Regions from separate parts of the Homo sapiens genome. Here region 1 is linked to region 2. The links are contacts of gene promoters, found by promoter capture Hi-C in human tissues and cell types (Jung and others, 2019). All regions are on one chromosome and are shown on one strand. Each heading gives the region's core, a stretch centred on a gene start or on the middle of the fragment in contact. The rest is flanking DNA. Distances are from core to core; before and after follow the strand shown. Region 1 overlaps LOC105370372 (a long non-coding RNA gene). Region 2 holds the start of SPACA7 (sperm acrosome associated 7).

Evidence for each region. The method cuts DNA at HindIII sites, captures the fragments that hold promoters and counts their contacts. A contact is called where the count stands out against the background at its distance.
Region 1: a contact is called between a fragment that was not itself captured here and the fragment with the promoter of SPACA7 in region 2, in 3 of the 25 tissues and cell types used here (dorsolateral prefrontal cortex, spleen and thymus).

What each region holds. Positions count from the first base shown.
Region 1 is chr13:112,442,058-112,449,080 of GRCh38, forward strand. The region is part of intron 2 of LOC105370372 (a long non-coding RNA gene); the gene reads right to left. Among named protein-coding and RNA genes, the nearest start is that of SPACA7, 69 kb to the left of the region's middle. The HindIII fragment of the contact is 6,990 bases long and covers 1-6,609 here.
Region 2 is chr13:112,373,786-112,379,985 of GRCh38, forward strand. It overlaps SPACA7 (sperm acrosome associated 7), which reads left to right and starts at 2,570. Exons shown (of 7, transcript NM_145248.5): 1 at 2,570-2,694. The coding sequence starts at 2,601. It overlaps LOC105370373 (a long non-coding RNA gene), which reads right to left and starts at 2,493. Exons shown (of 3, transcript XR_944295.3): 1 at 2,339-2,493. LOC105370372 (a long non-coding RNA gene) reads right to left here. Exons shown (of 5, transcript XR_944294.2): 4 at 5,222-5,280; 5 at 4,953-5,081. RefSeq lists an enhancer at 4,022-5,221. The HindIII fragment of the contact is 14,702 bases long and covers 1-5,163 here.

The DNA.
Region 1 (7,023 bases), core at 1,865-4,364, 69 kb after region 2:
AGACCTGCCACTCACAACATGGCAAGGCCAGCACCCCAGCGCCCCACATAACCACCTACAGTGGGCCTCAGGTGTGATGCAGCCACACTGCCGTGCAGGCAGACCCAGCTGGATTTCACAGCTGTGCTTGAGGGCAGAGGTCGGCAAAGATTCTCCATCAAGGGCGGGATGAAAAGCATTTGAGGCTTCACAGGCTCTCTGGTCCCTGTGGCAACTCAACCTCCGGATTATAGCACAAAAGCACTAGAGGCCGGGTGCGGTGGTTCACCTGAGGCCAGGAGTTCAAGACCAGCCTGGCCAACATGGTGAAACCCTGTCTCTATTAAAAATATTTTTTAAAAAAAAATTAGCCAGGCGTGGTGGCGGGAACCTGTAATCCCAGCTACTCGGGAGGCTGAGGCAGGAGAACCACTGGAGCCTGGGAGGCCGAGGTTGCAATGAGCTGAGATCACGCCACTGCACTCCAGCCTGGGTGACAGAGGAAGACTCTATCTCAAAAAAAAAAAAAAAAAGCCAGCAGAGGGGATCCATGAACCACGGGCTTGGCTGTGTCCCAGGAAGCTTTATTTACAAACCTAGGTGGGAGCTGCACCCACGGGAGCTTTCTCAGCAGGAGGAGAAGCCCGCCCTGCAGTCCCTCCCTGCACGGGGACCACGGTGGGCTCCTGAGCACTTCCAGTAGGTGCGACTGCAGAACTGAACTCTTCATTTTATCTGGATGAGTTTAAATGTAAACGATCTGTGTGACTGGTGACTCCCACGCTGCCCCGCGCAGCTCTGGGAGCACAAACCTCAGGACGGGTCTCTGCAGGCCCCACCTCTCCCATGAGCCCCACCTCCACGTGTGCCCGGGGCGGGTCTCCCAGCAGCACCACCTCCTCCACCCCCGAAGCTGCTTCTTAGACCAAAGGCTTGCTCCTTGCAAAAGACTGAACAGCTGCATCGTTTCCTAGGTAAGAGGCTGCATACGAAGCTTTAGAAGGCTAAACGTGGCTGGCCCGGGAAACACTGTGTTAAAAAGATGGGACTTTTTAAGAGGCCACATAGACTTGAAAAATATTTGTAATAAAATGTTTTCCAGCTAAAGATCCCACACGATGTTTTTCAACCCAGAAAGCACTCTTACTCCTTGATCCTGAATCACTGATAGAAGAGCTTTGTAAAAGGTGATTCCGACGGCCCTACCAAGCAGATGGCCGGCAGACAGCCCCGAAACACCAGGAATCCGTCCCCGGGGCTGGGTGGAGCAGGCAGGGCTGGCCGGGAGTGAGCAACCAGGTGCTGCCAATTTCACCCTGGCCACCCCTGTCCCAGGCAACGCAGGCTCCAGGAAGGGAGTTCCAGGGTTCAAGTCTCAAAGTCAGGGGCAAGATCTTTCAGCTCGTGGGGTGGTGGTGAGGGCTGACTTAGACGTCGAAAACAGTAGGTCTGAGGAAGTGAAGGAGGTAGTTAATAATAAGAACAACGGACCCCTCCGCCACTTCTGGGGGCTGACCCAGAGCCACACGTCTCATCCACCCGAAGGCGACGGCACCAGGCAGTGAGGACACACGACCGCCACCCTGTGGTCATCACGCACCCTCCAGCCCCAAGGGCAGCCCCACGCCTGCAGTGGTGAGGGGCTCCAGGAGACAGAAGCTGTGGGACCACCCACACACGCACACACACATCACACAGAGGGGGAGATTTTCAGGAACTGGTCGGGAACCTGAGAGAGTCGACACTGCCGTTCAAGTGCAGAGCTCTCTGCAGGCAGGATTCCCTCTTCTGTGGGGACCCCAGTCTTTTTCTTAAGACGTTCCGCAGAGTGGATGAGGCCCACCCACACCACAGCCAGACGACTTTTCTCAAAGTCCCCTGAATTAACATTAATTTCATAGAAAAAGTTGTTCACAGCCGCGTCCCAGGGGCGTCTGTCCAGATATCTGGGTGCCATGGCCCAGCCAGGTTGACATGAGGATTGACCATCACCTCACCCTCCCATCCTCACCCCGCTAAACACAGGGGGATTGGCGGAGAAGCCAGGATCTGTCAGTGGACAGAGCCCAGGCTGAGCCCAGAAGCTGCAGCGCCTGGGCCGGGACCTCAAGCCCTGTCCTGCACTGCCTCTCTATGGCGGGTCCGGGAATAGCAGCCTCCTTCGTCCGGGAAGTTCAGGCTCAGCTGTGCACACCTGACAGGAGGCCGCAGGGTGGCCGAGAGCCCATCCCAGACCCATGACCCCACAGCAAAGCCCTTCATGCTGCCTTGCCCCACACAGGCCCCCGTGACCTTTCCTCCCCGGCAGATGGGGCCACAGAGGAGACCCCGAAAAGATAGCCCCCCAACAGTCCCCCATTACCAAGGCCCTGTGGCTGCACCAGAGGCCATGAGAGTGGGGGCGGTGGGCAGAGCAGACTGTGAAAGGGCTTGGGAGACATGGGGCTTGGGGGTTTTGGGTGGGGGTAAAGACTGGGGTTTGGGGTCAAGCGGGGGTCTGGGACCGTGCCTCACCACGGGATCTGTGTACACAGCGATGCACCCAGCGTACGCGGGCCCTTCCCTCTGAGCCCTCGGCCCCTCATCTGCAGGATGGGTGAGCCCTGGAGAAGCGGGCAGAAGCAGAGGAGGCAGCGAACGCAGAGCATGTGGCCTGTGACTGAGCCTAGAAAGTCCGCTCGGCAACAGAGGCTGCAATCCAGAAAGCCCCCTCGGTGACAGAGGCTACAATCTAGAAAGCTCGCTCAGCGACAGAGGCTACCACCTAGAAAGCCTGCTCGGCGACAGACACTACAATCTAGACAGCCCATTTGGCGACAGTGGCTACAACCCAGACAGCCCGCTCAGCAACAGTGTCTATGATCTAGAAAGCTCCCTCGGCAACAGCAGCTGTCATCTAGAAAGCCCGCTCAGCGACAGAGGCCACAATCTAGAAAGCCTCCTCAGCGACAGCGGCTGCGACCCAGAAAGCCCTCTCAGTGACAGTGGCTATGATCGCTCGCAACTCTGGCCCCTGGCTCTGTTGGTCAAGCCTGCCACAGCCCGGAAGCCTCTGCAGCCTCCCTGTTGCTGCTGAAAAGGACGCTGGTTGGAGAAGGACCCAAGGAAGCACCGACAGATTGGGACCGGCTCGGGGCTGACTAGCCGGGAGGCTGAGAGGCTGGTGCCCAGGCTGCCCCTTGACCCTGCTGCACCAGCGCCGCCTCTGCGTTTGGTCCTGTCTCAAAGACCGAGGGGAACAACAGAGCAGGGTGGGGGTGAGGAGACTGAGGTGAACAGAGCAGGATGGGGGTGCGGAGACTGAGGTGAACGGGTGAGGAGGACTGAGGTGAACCCACCCTTGCTGGCCATTTCCGTTTCCCCACGAGGCAACATTACTTTTCAATACTGGGTAAAGGCTGTGCGACCACAGAACCACAGATGTCAGACCCCTCCCACTCTGACCAGAAAGCCCCCTTCGAGGAGCCTGAGGCTGCCCTGCCTGCGTCCGCTTCACTCGTGTCCACACTCACAGCTTCCACCCCTTGCACCCCCCATGGAGGGGGCGGCAGGCGGCCGCTCAAGGTCCGCTCCCCGTGCCCTGCCCGCCACGCCCGCCCTCCCTCCCCGGGCTCTCCCCGCCCTGGTCCCGCACAAGCTGAGCCCCTCTGCCTTCACCCTCAGGGAAGCGGGCTCCCTGTTAGGGACTTGGAGCAAGGTCGGCCCCTACTTTCCCGCTGCCCCTCAAGATTTCACAGTGAGAAGCTGGGCTGGGGACCCGCAGGTGTTCACAGAGGCTCACTGTCACTGTCTCAACGCTGGGGTCTGTTCTGTTTAGACTCACCTCGATCCTGTACCTGGACACAGTAGGGTTCATGGTCTTTTGCTGAACTAAGCTGAGCTGGATTCCAGCCCTCCAAGGAGCCTGTGATGGGAGGGGCTGGTCTCTCCCTTGGCGAGGAGTAGGGAGGAGCCAATGGGCACAGAATGGAGACACACCCCACTCAGGTCCAGTGGTCAGAGGTGGGGCAGGGGGCCCAGTGGTCAGAGTGACGAAGGTGCTGTGTCCTGGGGAGGCTCAGCCCCTGCCAGCATCCCACCCCCTCCAGGCAGCAGCTTCCCGGCGTTCCTGGATCCCCTCTTGCCTTTAACTCCCACCTGCACGATCCAGTTCTCCCACACTCCATGCGTGTTCCTACTGAACGCCGACGGGGACAATTGCAGAAAGCCCAGGAGCCTTTAGGTTGGGTTTGCCTGCTCTTTTCTGACACCCAAGGGCTACAATAACATTTGCTTTTGAGGGAAGCTGCCATTTTTAATCAGCTGAACAGTGACCCAGCACAACAGGCTGAGTACTGCAAAGAAAAGTTTAACAGAATAAATGTGGGGACAGGCACAGAGTCCGACAAGAGTGGCCACCATGCAGGAGGCAGGTGTGTCTGGGGCAGATGGGGGAGGCTCCGCAGCGAGCCCAGGAAGCCCAGTCCTCAGCGGTGGATGGGGCTTCCGTGGCCAATACAACCCGTGTGGCTGGATTACAAAGAAGGGTGTCTAGAAGCCGCACTGCCTCTCCCAGGCACCTCTGAGCTGGTCCCAGGAGGGGCTGCTGTGAGTTAAGGAGAACAGCAGTCAGCTGGGACTGAGAGTTACGTCCAACGAGAAACGGGGGAGTCCAGGGTGTTTCTCATGTACTGAGACAGCAAAGGACCCACAGGGTGTGTGTGCACAAGCAACTGCAGCTGCCACGAGGGCCAGGCTTGTTCTGCTGGTCCAAGGAATCCAGTGGCCACAGGAAGACATTTCAGCCCCATGCAGTGCCCAGCACAGGGAGCACCGCCTCTGCAGGGGCCGGGCTCAAGGCCACACCCAAGGCCCATGTCCAGCACTCCCCAATGACCAGCACTCCCCGGACACCCCCAAGGCCCATGGCCAGCACTCCCCAGCCACCCTGCCTCCCCTCCCCGCAGACACACAGCCCCTGGGACCCTACTCCAGCACTCCCCAGCCACCCTGCCTTCCCTCCCCGCAGACACACTGGGCCCCCACTCCAGCCAGTAACTCCACCACAGCCTCCAGGGGCAGGTCAGTCCCGTCTGCCGCCTCCACCCATCCAAACCGCCCTGGTGACCGCGCAGCAGTCTCCATGCCGCAAACCCAGACACGGGCTGCGTTGTTTCCCAAAGTCCAGGGTGGTCGGCAGCCGTAAATGAGCCCAGCCACCCCTTCCCCTGGGATCTACTTCCCCGGTAATCCTCTCCCCTTGAGCACGGACTGAACTCGTGGAATATGGAAACATGATGGAATATTGCTTCCAACCTCAGGCCACAAAACAACTGTGGCTTCCATTTCAGGGCCTCTCATGCTTTCTCTCTCTCTTATGTACTCCAAGGCAGGCAGCTGTCAGGCCATGGCTTCCCTCTGGAAAGCCCAGGTGACAAGGAACCTGGCCACAGTCAGTGGGAGCCCACTGTGGAAGTGGATCCTTCTCCTGCTGAGCCTTCTGATGAGACCTGGGCCTGGCCACAGCTTGCTGTCCTCAGGAGAAGCCCTGGGCAGGAGGTGCCCAGCTACAGGCCCTGGATTCCCGACCCCATAAACTGTGCCATAATGTGTGCTTTAAGCCATTGCATTTGGGATAACTTGTTATTCAAAAGTAGACAAAGGGCCGTAGATCTTCCTGAGCCCATGAAGAAAGCTCACTAATGAGGGCTCACTGAGTCTGGAGCAGCTTGTGTCCTGCCATTCCAGCAGCAGCAACGTGCGCAGGAGGAGGGTGGGGCCCCCGAGGGGCTCTCCTGCTCCCACACCCCTCCCCACTGGACGTGGCTATCCATGGACGCCAGGTGAAAATCCACATCACAGCAGCCTTGAAGGAGACATGCGGCTCCAGGGGGCTGAGGAGCAGGAGTGGGGATGATCAAATCAGATTCGAGAGCATCTCATCGCCCCTAATGGGGCCGCCCTCTCTCCATCCCGGACCCCTGCCTGACCGCCCCCTGGGAGCAGAGTGCTCAGCCACGATGGCCACACCCTAGGAGCAGAGTGCTCAGCCCCGCCCCCGCTGCACTGTGGCCAAGAGTTTGCAGGTGATTTGTAAACAACAGTAAGGTATGAACTAAGAATGTGAACCAGTCAGGGTTTGAGGCAGAGAAGGGAAGCCACTCCAGGTGTCTTCAGCAGGAAAGGAGGTAATGCTGGTGTCTCTGAAAGTGACTGGAAAGTTGAAGCAAGTTCTCACTTGGCTGTGGCTCCCAGAAACTACTTGCAGGACAATGTAAAGCCCACCCATCATGGGGGCCGCCATTCCTGGGGCTGCCATTGACCATGGATTCACCTGAGCCAGCTGGGGACCAGGAGCAGAAGCCGGGAGCCCGCGGGGTCACGGCTGCCATCCGCTGCCATCCAACTGCGTCTGGGGTTTGAAGAACGGACATCACGCAGAAATACTCACATCTCAACAACGGTGCTTTCCAGCAAACATGGCACAATGGCAACAAGATGCGCTCCTCTTCCGCCTGTCTTTTGGATTGCCTTTGGGTGCCTCTCGTTGGTGGACTCTGCCCAGCTGCCAAGCATCTTGGAAATGAGTTGTTTTGTTCTCTGTCTTCTCCAACCACAGGGAGAATGGAAGGAAGGTTGAATAAGCCAACCCCGTGCATGCCCCACAGAATGTAGAATTTAAACAGCTGGACGGCTTCAAGACAGTTCTGCCCATAGCCTGGATGTGCTTCTTCATGATGAAGACGACTTTGGAACTCCAGCCCAGAGACCCCAGGGACGTGGCGGCAACACATGGGCACCATGCTTCCAGGGGCGAGGCCTCTCCCACCACTGGCTTACCCACAGCACAGCTCAGCTGGGTCTGCCAGCTGCCACCGATTCACCACTGGAAGGCAATTCTCTGCGGGTGGCACATTTTCCATACACCCCATGTAGCGAGACACTGGCCTCCCCTTTGTTCAGGCCTACCTGTTCAAGGACGCCTGAAAGCAAATACAGCCCTGGAAGGCAAAGGCAGTGCCTTCCTCTGTGGCAGAAGACTCAGGGGTGCTCTCCTATGACCCT
Region 2 (6,200 bases), core at 1,320-3,819:
AGCAAATCTATGAAACGCGGGGGGCAGAGCTCTGTGAACTAAGCCAGTCTGACTACCATATATATTTTTTAGACAGAGTCTTGCTCTGTCACCCAGGCTGGAGTGCAGTGGCGCGATCTCCGCTCACTGCAAGCTCCGCCTCCCAGGTTCATGCCATTCTCCTGCCTCAGCCTCCCGAGTAGCTGGGACTACAGGTGCCCACCCAGTTAATTTTTTTGTATTTTTAGTAGAGACGGGGTTTCACCGTGTTAGCCAGGATGGTCTTGATCTCCTGACCTCGTGATCCGCCCACCTCGGCCTCCCAAAGTGCTGGGATTACAGGCGTGAGCTACCGCGCCCGGCCTCTGACTACCATATTTTAGTGCTCAAATCTGTTCCTCCACTCCTGCATCTGGGATTAGTTTGACTCATTTGGCCGATGAGACATTAGCAAATGTGGTGCAAGAAAAGGCTTGTTTGCATCGAGGCTTACTCTCCTTTCTGCTGTGACCAAGCCCAGGCTGCCTGCTAGAGGCCGAGAGACCACATGGAGGGAAGCCTCAGCCATCCCAAGCCCCAGCATCCTAGCTAAGGCCTCAGACATGTCCATGAGGCCACACTAGGCCAGCAGCCCCCAGAGCCAACCCACAAAGTTGTAAGCAATCACACATGGGCTGTATCAAGTCACCGAGCTTCGGGCAGCCTTGAGAATGACTCCTTCCTCGACCAAATCAGCGAGGCTCCTCTGACCCCTCTTCTCAACGAGGCCTCGCCCCCAGCCCTGATCAAATTCCTCATCCTCCGCCTTGAGGTGGAAGTCCCTGGCCTGCCTTAGCCAGACATCCCTCCTTGGTGCAGTGGGTGTCGTTCGACAGGCAGCAGTGCAGGGTTCTGCTGTCATGGGAGCTCTGGCTGCTGTCCGTTTGTACATTCAGCCTCTTAGGCCCATGCTGCTGGCCCCAAAATGACATTCTGAGTAGCAAGAGCCTGGGTTATAGAAGCAAGCATCTCACTTGGACCATTCATTAACTCAGAGTGGGACTTGGAACCCACTGGGTTTCTGTAAATGTCAACCATGCTTAGTGTGCCTTTATGGACACGCTGAAAATCTGAAATATACTCCCCACACCTTGAGGTAGATTGGCTACCACTGCATCTATCAAAAGGAAAACCTGAGCAAAAATGTGCTGTGGGTTCCCATACAAGCAATAAAAATTAAAGAGCCAGAGACCCATGGTGGGTCAGCCATCCTTGGGGTCCTGACCAGACCTCGGGGGCATTGTTAGTCTTGTGCGTCCAGGGCCCCAGTGATATGGTTTGGCTCTGTGTCCTCACCCAAGCATCATCTTGAATTATAATCCTCATAATCCCACGTGTTGAGGGAGGGACTTGGTGGGAGGCGATCTGATCATGGGAGTGGATTCCTGCATGCTGTTCTCATGATAAGTGAGTTCTCACTAGAGCTGATGGTTTTATAAGTGTTTAACAGCTCCTCCTTCATGTACTCTCTCTCCTGCCGCCTTGTGAAGAAGGTGCCTGCTTCCCCTTCCGTCATGATTGTAAGTTTCCTGAGGCCTCCCCAGCCATGCAGAACTGTGAGTCAATTAAATCTCTTTTCTTTATAAATTACCCAGTCTCAGGGAAGTTCTATATAGCAGTGTGGGAACAGACAAACACACCAGCCCTCTCCACCATGGAGCTGGGATCTGAGGGCTGTTCACCTGGGACCCCACCACCGGCCGAGTCTAGACCAGCTGCCCCACTCTGAGCCCTGGATGTAGGAGTCAGTCCAGGGGTGAGATAGGATCCAGGGGAGCCAACCAGAGTGACTCCTTTGGGGTTTTGTCACTGCACGGATGGAGAAAGCTCTAGAAAGTCTAGGAGATAGAGCTGGGAGGATGATAACATGGAAATGCAGCCATGTTCTCCTCTCGTGATTAAAGTCTCACTGCCAGGGAAAGATTGGGGCTGATGCTGAGAAAGAAGGTGTGGGGGAAAGGAGGCTGAAACCTGGGTCATCTGTCTCCTGTTCTTCATGATCCTGGAACTTTGAGGGTGGGGGAGGGTGGGAGGGGACATGGGGCCACGGGCCTCTGTTCTTCAAGGCTCTGTTCTTCAAGGGACCTTTAAGAGGTGATTAGACCCTCTGGATCTGTCGGTTCTGGCACTTGCTCTGTAATTCAACCACCTCTCCAGCATCCTTCAAATACGCCTCTTTCCATGGGAGCAGATTTTGTTGGCTTTTGGCCACTGGCCCTTAAGTCCTGATTAGTATCTACCCCTTGAGTCCTCAGGGTGCTCAGGACAGAGGAAGTCACCAGAACAGGCAATAAGAAAGAGTGGAGAGGATCTCTGTTACCTTAAGACCCCAGTGAGCCTCCTCCCTGCTTCCCAGTCACAGACTCTGGACAGAAACCCTGCCCCCCGCCCCTGGCAAGATGCCAGCTCCCTTCCTGGTCCTGATGTCACAGGTCCCTGGACATGACCTCCCCACCAGGGCAGGACCCCAGCTCCCTTCCTGGTTGTGATGTCACAGGTCCTGACATTCCACAGTGTCCTGGAGACCAAGGATGGGAAACTGTCAACCTTCAGAACGTCCTTCTCCCTCAGCTGGAGGGAGCATGGCAGTGAGCCAAGGAGACGGGACCCTCTGCTTTGTCCTCCTGCTGTGCTGTTGGCAAGAAACTGAGCTCCGGCCGAGAACCGTGATTCCAGGTAGGGCCCCACAGGGATGTCTCAGCAGAAAGAGAACTGAACCAGGTGGGGAGCGGCGGCCTCTTCTCCCATGGGTTCCTCTTATTCCCAACCTACATGAATTTACCATTTATTCCTTGGGGAATGAATGTAGCTGAAAAGTCTTTCTATCTTTGAAGACTTTTTAAAATCTAGATGTCCATAGGAAAGTTGCAAATGTTACTTATTTTAACTTTTTATTATGGAAAATTTCTAACTGGGAAGAATATCATGAACCTTCGTGTATTCACCCTCAGGTTCAATTATTGTGCATATTTTGTTTTTTTCTACACACACACACATACACACTCCACACCACATACACACACTTTTCTTGTTTGGGGAGTATTTTAGCACCATCCCAGATGCCTTACCACCTCATGTAAAACATTTTCTTGCGAAGAGATAAAAGCATTATCTACAATGTCATAATCAGACTAACATAATTACCAAAAGCCTTTATCTCAGCTCATACCGTTAAAAAATATTTGTGATGCTTGCTAAAGATGGGCAGGCAGCCTTTATTCAAAGGGGGCTACTACCATGGTGTCTCATAATAGTGGAGAGTGGGCTCAACTCCAAATACAGGGAAAGTGGAGATTTGCAGCCAAGGATCAGGGTGGGTCAGTGGATGAACATTGCTAAAAGGTAGGAGAATTCTTTGCTAAACTGATTCAGCAAAGGCCAAGAGGGCTTTTATAAACAAAAATGAAGCATTTATATTTTTTGTCCCACCTGATTACTCTAGAATTTGGATATTATGATTTTCAGGACCATACAATTGTTTGCATAAGTTTAATAAAAATTGATTATCCTTGCAACAGGACACAAAGGTCTGCTATCTTTGAAGACCTTTTAAAATCTAGACATCCATGAGAGAGTTGCATATGTTACTTATTTTAACTTTTTATTATGGAAAATTTCTAACTTGGAAGAATATCATGAACCTCCATGTATTCACCCTCTAGTTCAATTATTGTGTATATTGTGTTCGGCCAAACAGGAGGCCAGACCTGAAAGGAAGCCAAGGCAATAAAATAATCAAAGATGGAGGGTGAGGAATTTGATCAGATATCAAGGGTGACCAGGCCAAGACTAGGGGATTTCCACTAAAAGACTTCACAGGATTCCTACTAAACATGGGGAAAAGCAGACAAAAGCAGAAGCTAGGGTCAAGGCCTAGTCAAAGAGAAGACTCAGAGGAGCCTGGCATGAGGTAAGTCAAGGAGCGAGGCTTTCTCATTCCCTCCTCTTGTTCAAGAAAGAAGAGACATTCCTTTTCTCTTTGAACAAGATAAGTCCATGTTTCATCTGGTGGAGGATGTGTGCTGGATGGTACAAGTAGTCGGGAATTTAATGAGGGGAATGTCTACGAAAAAGAGAAGAAAAACAAAGATTTATAGTTGGAAACACAGTTTCCGAATCCAGAGGGCAGTCTGTTGAGAAGATTTCTGGATTTTGGGCTCAAGGTATCTTCAGCCGATGGGGCAAGGATGGATTTCCTAGTTTGCAGGGGGTGTGTCCTTGGTGACATCATGACCATCAGAGCCACAGTCATGGTTATGCTGGGGGCAGAGCGTGGATGTGTCCAGCTTCAGCCTTTCCAGATGGTCCCACGGAAGGCCTGAGTTGTCAGGCTTTAGTTCTCACTAACACCCAGTCAGGAGGGCAGAAGAAAGACTGGAAATGTTAGCCTGGGAACATTGAAGGACTCTAAAAGGCTTCAGGATCCAGTCCAGTTTACAGGTAGATAACAAAGTAGAAAGTAAGGTGGAGTTTATCAAAAGATAAAAAAAAGTAGAATACACAGGGTTATAACTCACAAGGGTGTGCTACCATTTTTCATTAAAACATAAAATATGGCTCTATGGTCACCCTCTTTTTTTGATCAAGATAACCAAAGTAATGCTATTCTTGTCTCAAAAATATATCACATCTTACAAGATTTGGTCTGATTATTTACATAAGTGCAGCAAGAATGGTAATGGACCACATAAACTGAGTTTTCTCTGCTGGAGCTTTTTACAAGGAATCTCAGATTAGATTTTTTAAAAGCTTTTTGAGGCTAGGAAGCCCAGCCAAAAACTCACCATCAGACTTCACATGTGGTACCTAAAGACTTGGGTGAATTTCTCTCTTCCGAAGGTCTCGAGGTTCCCAAAGTTCCTGGATCTGCCAGCAAATGACCTTCTTCACTCACCTGTGGGATGGGGACCCGGTGAGCCAGGTAGCAGGTCAGTTTCTCCAGCTCCATCAAATCAACCTCAGTTTTTAAAAACTGTCTGGTCACCTCTGATTCTATGTATCAATCTCAAATATGACATTCCAGTCAAAGCCTTGGTAATATGACCAATGTTTCCAATCGTGTCCTGTTGCAAGGAGAATCAATTTTTATTAAACTTACGCAAACAATTGTATGGTCCTGAAAATCATAATATCCAAATTCTAGAGTAATCAGGTGGGACAAAAAATATAAATGCTTCATTTTTGTTTATGAAAGTGTAATTACCAAATTGTTGTCCGTTATGCGTAGCCTAAGAGAAACCGGAAGCAGAGAGTTCTTTAAATCTGGAAAACAAAACATTAAAAAACCAGAAACATTTCCAAGAAAATTCAGAAAAATTATAATCGTCCCCACATTGAGTCCCACATCATTAATTCTTGTTCTACTTGATCTTGGGTTAGCAGGTTTACAAATCCGTCAATGTCTCCCTGAGTTCTGGAAAAGTCCAGTCTAATAGTGCAATCTTAGAGGCGTCAGAAACCTTACTCCAGAGTACTTGGCAGAGTCTTACCTAAAAATCTCCTTGAAGACAAAGAATTTTTGGACTGTAGCTGATTGCAAAAGCTTTCAAAAAAGCATCAGAGTAAAACAATAATTGTCTTGAATGACAAAAGACATAAAATGCATAAAATGGCCATGGTTAAAAATCTGATGAGAGTTCATTATGCTGCAATTGACAAGGAAATTTGGTTGTTTCTGTGACATACAACATTACAAGACAATAACGGAAATTAGGACTCATAACTTTATACCAGGACATATCATGGACAGTAAGGACAGTGAAAATTTCTAGGAATTTAATACAATTTCTGAAACACTTATAACATATATGCATACAAATATAAAGAAGGTTAAACATCCCTTATTTGACAATGCTTTTTACGAATTTAATGTATCAAATAAAGCTAATTAGTTTAACATCTTTCTTTTCACCAAGTGAGAGAACAAATCCTTTGAGATTTTCTAGTGGCCCTCTGGGAAATCTCAAAATTAGTTTGAGGTCAAAATTCTTCATTTAGAATTTTACTTGGATGAAGTTGTCAAAAATTATAAAAGTTTTGAATATTTGGTTAAATAGGATCATAAGTTACTATGAAATGGTAGCTATCCATTTAAGTTAAATGACAGTAAAGAATTTTTAAAGAAAATATAGGAAGTAGCATGGTTTTTAAAACAATTTAGCTCTTTTAATATTGAGGAGACT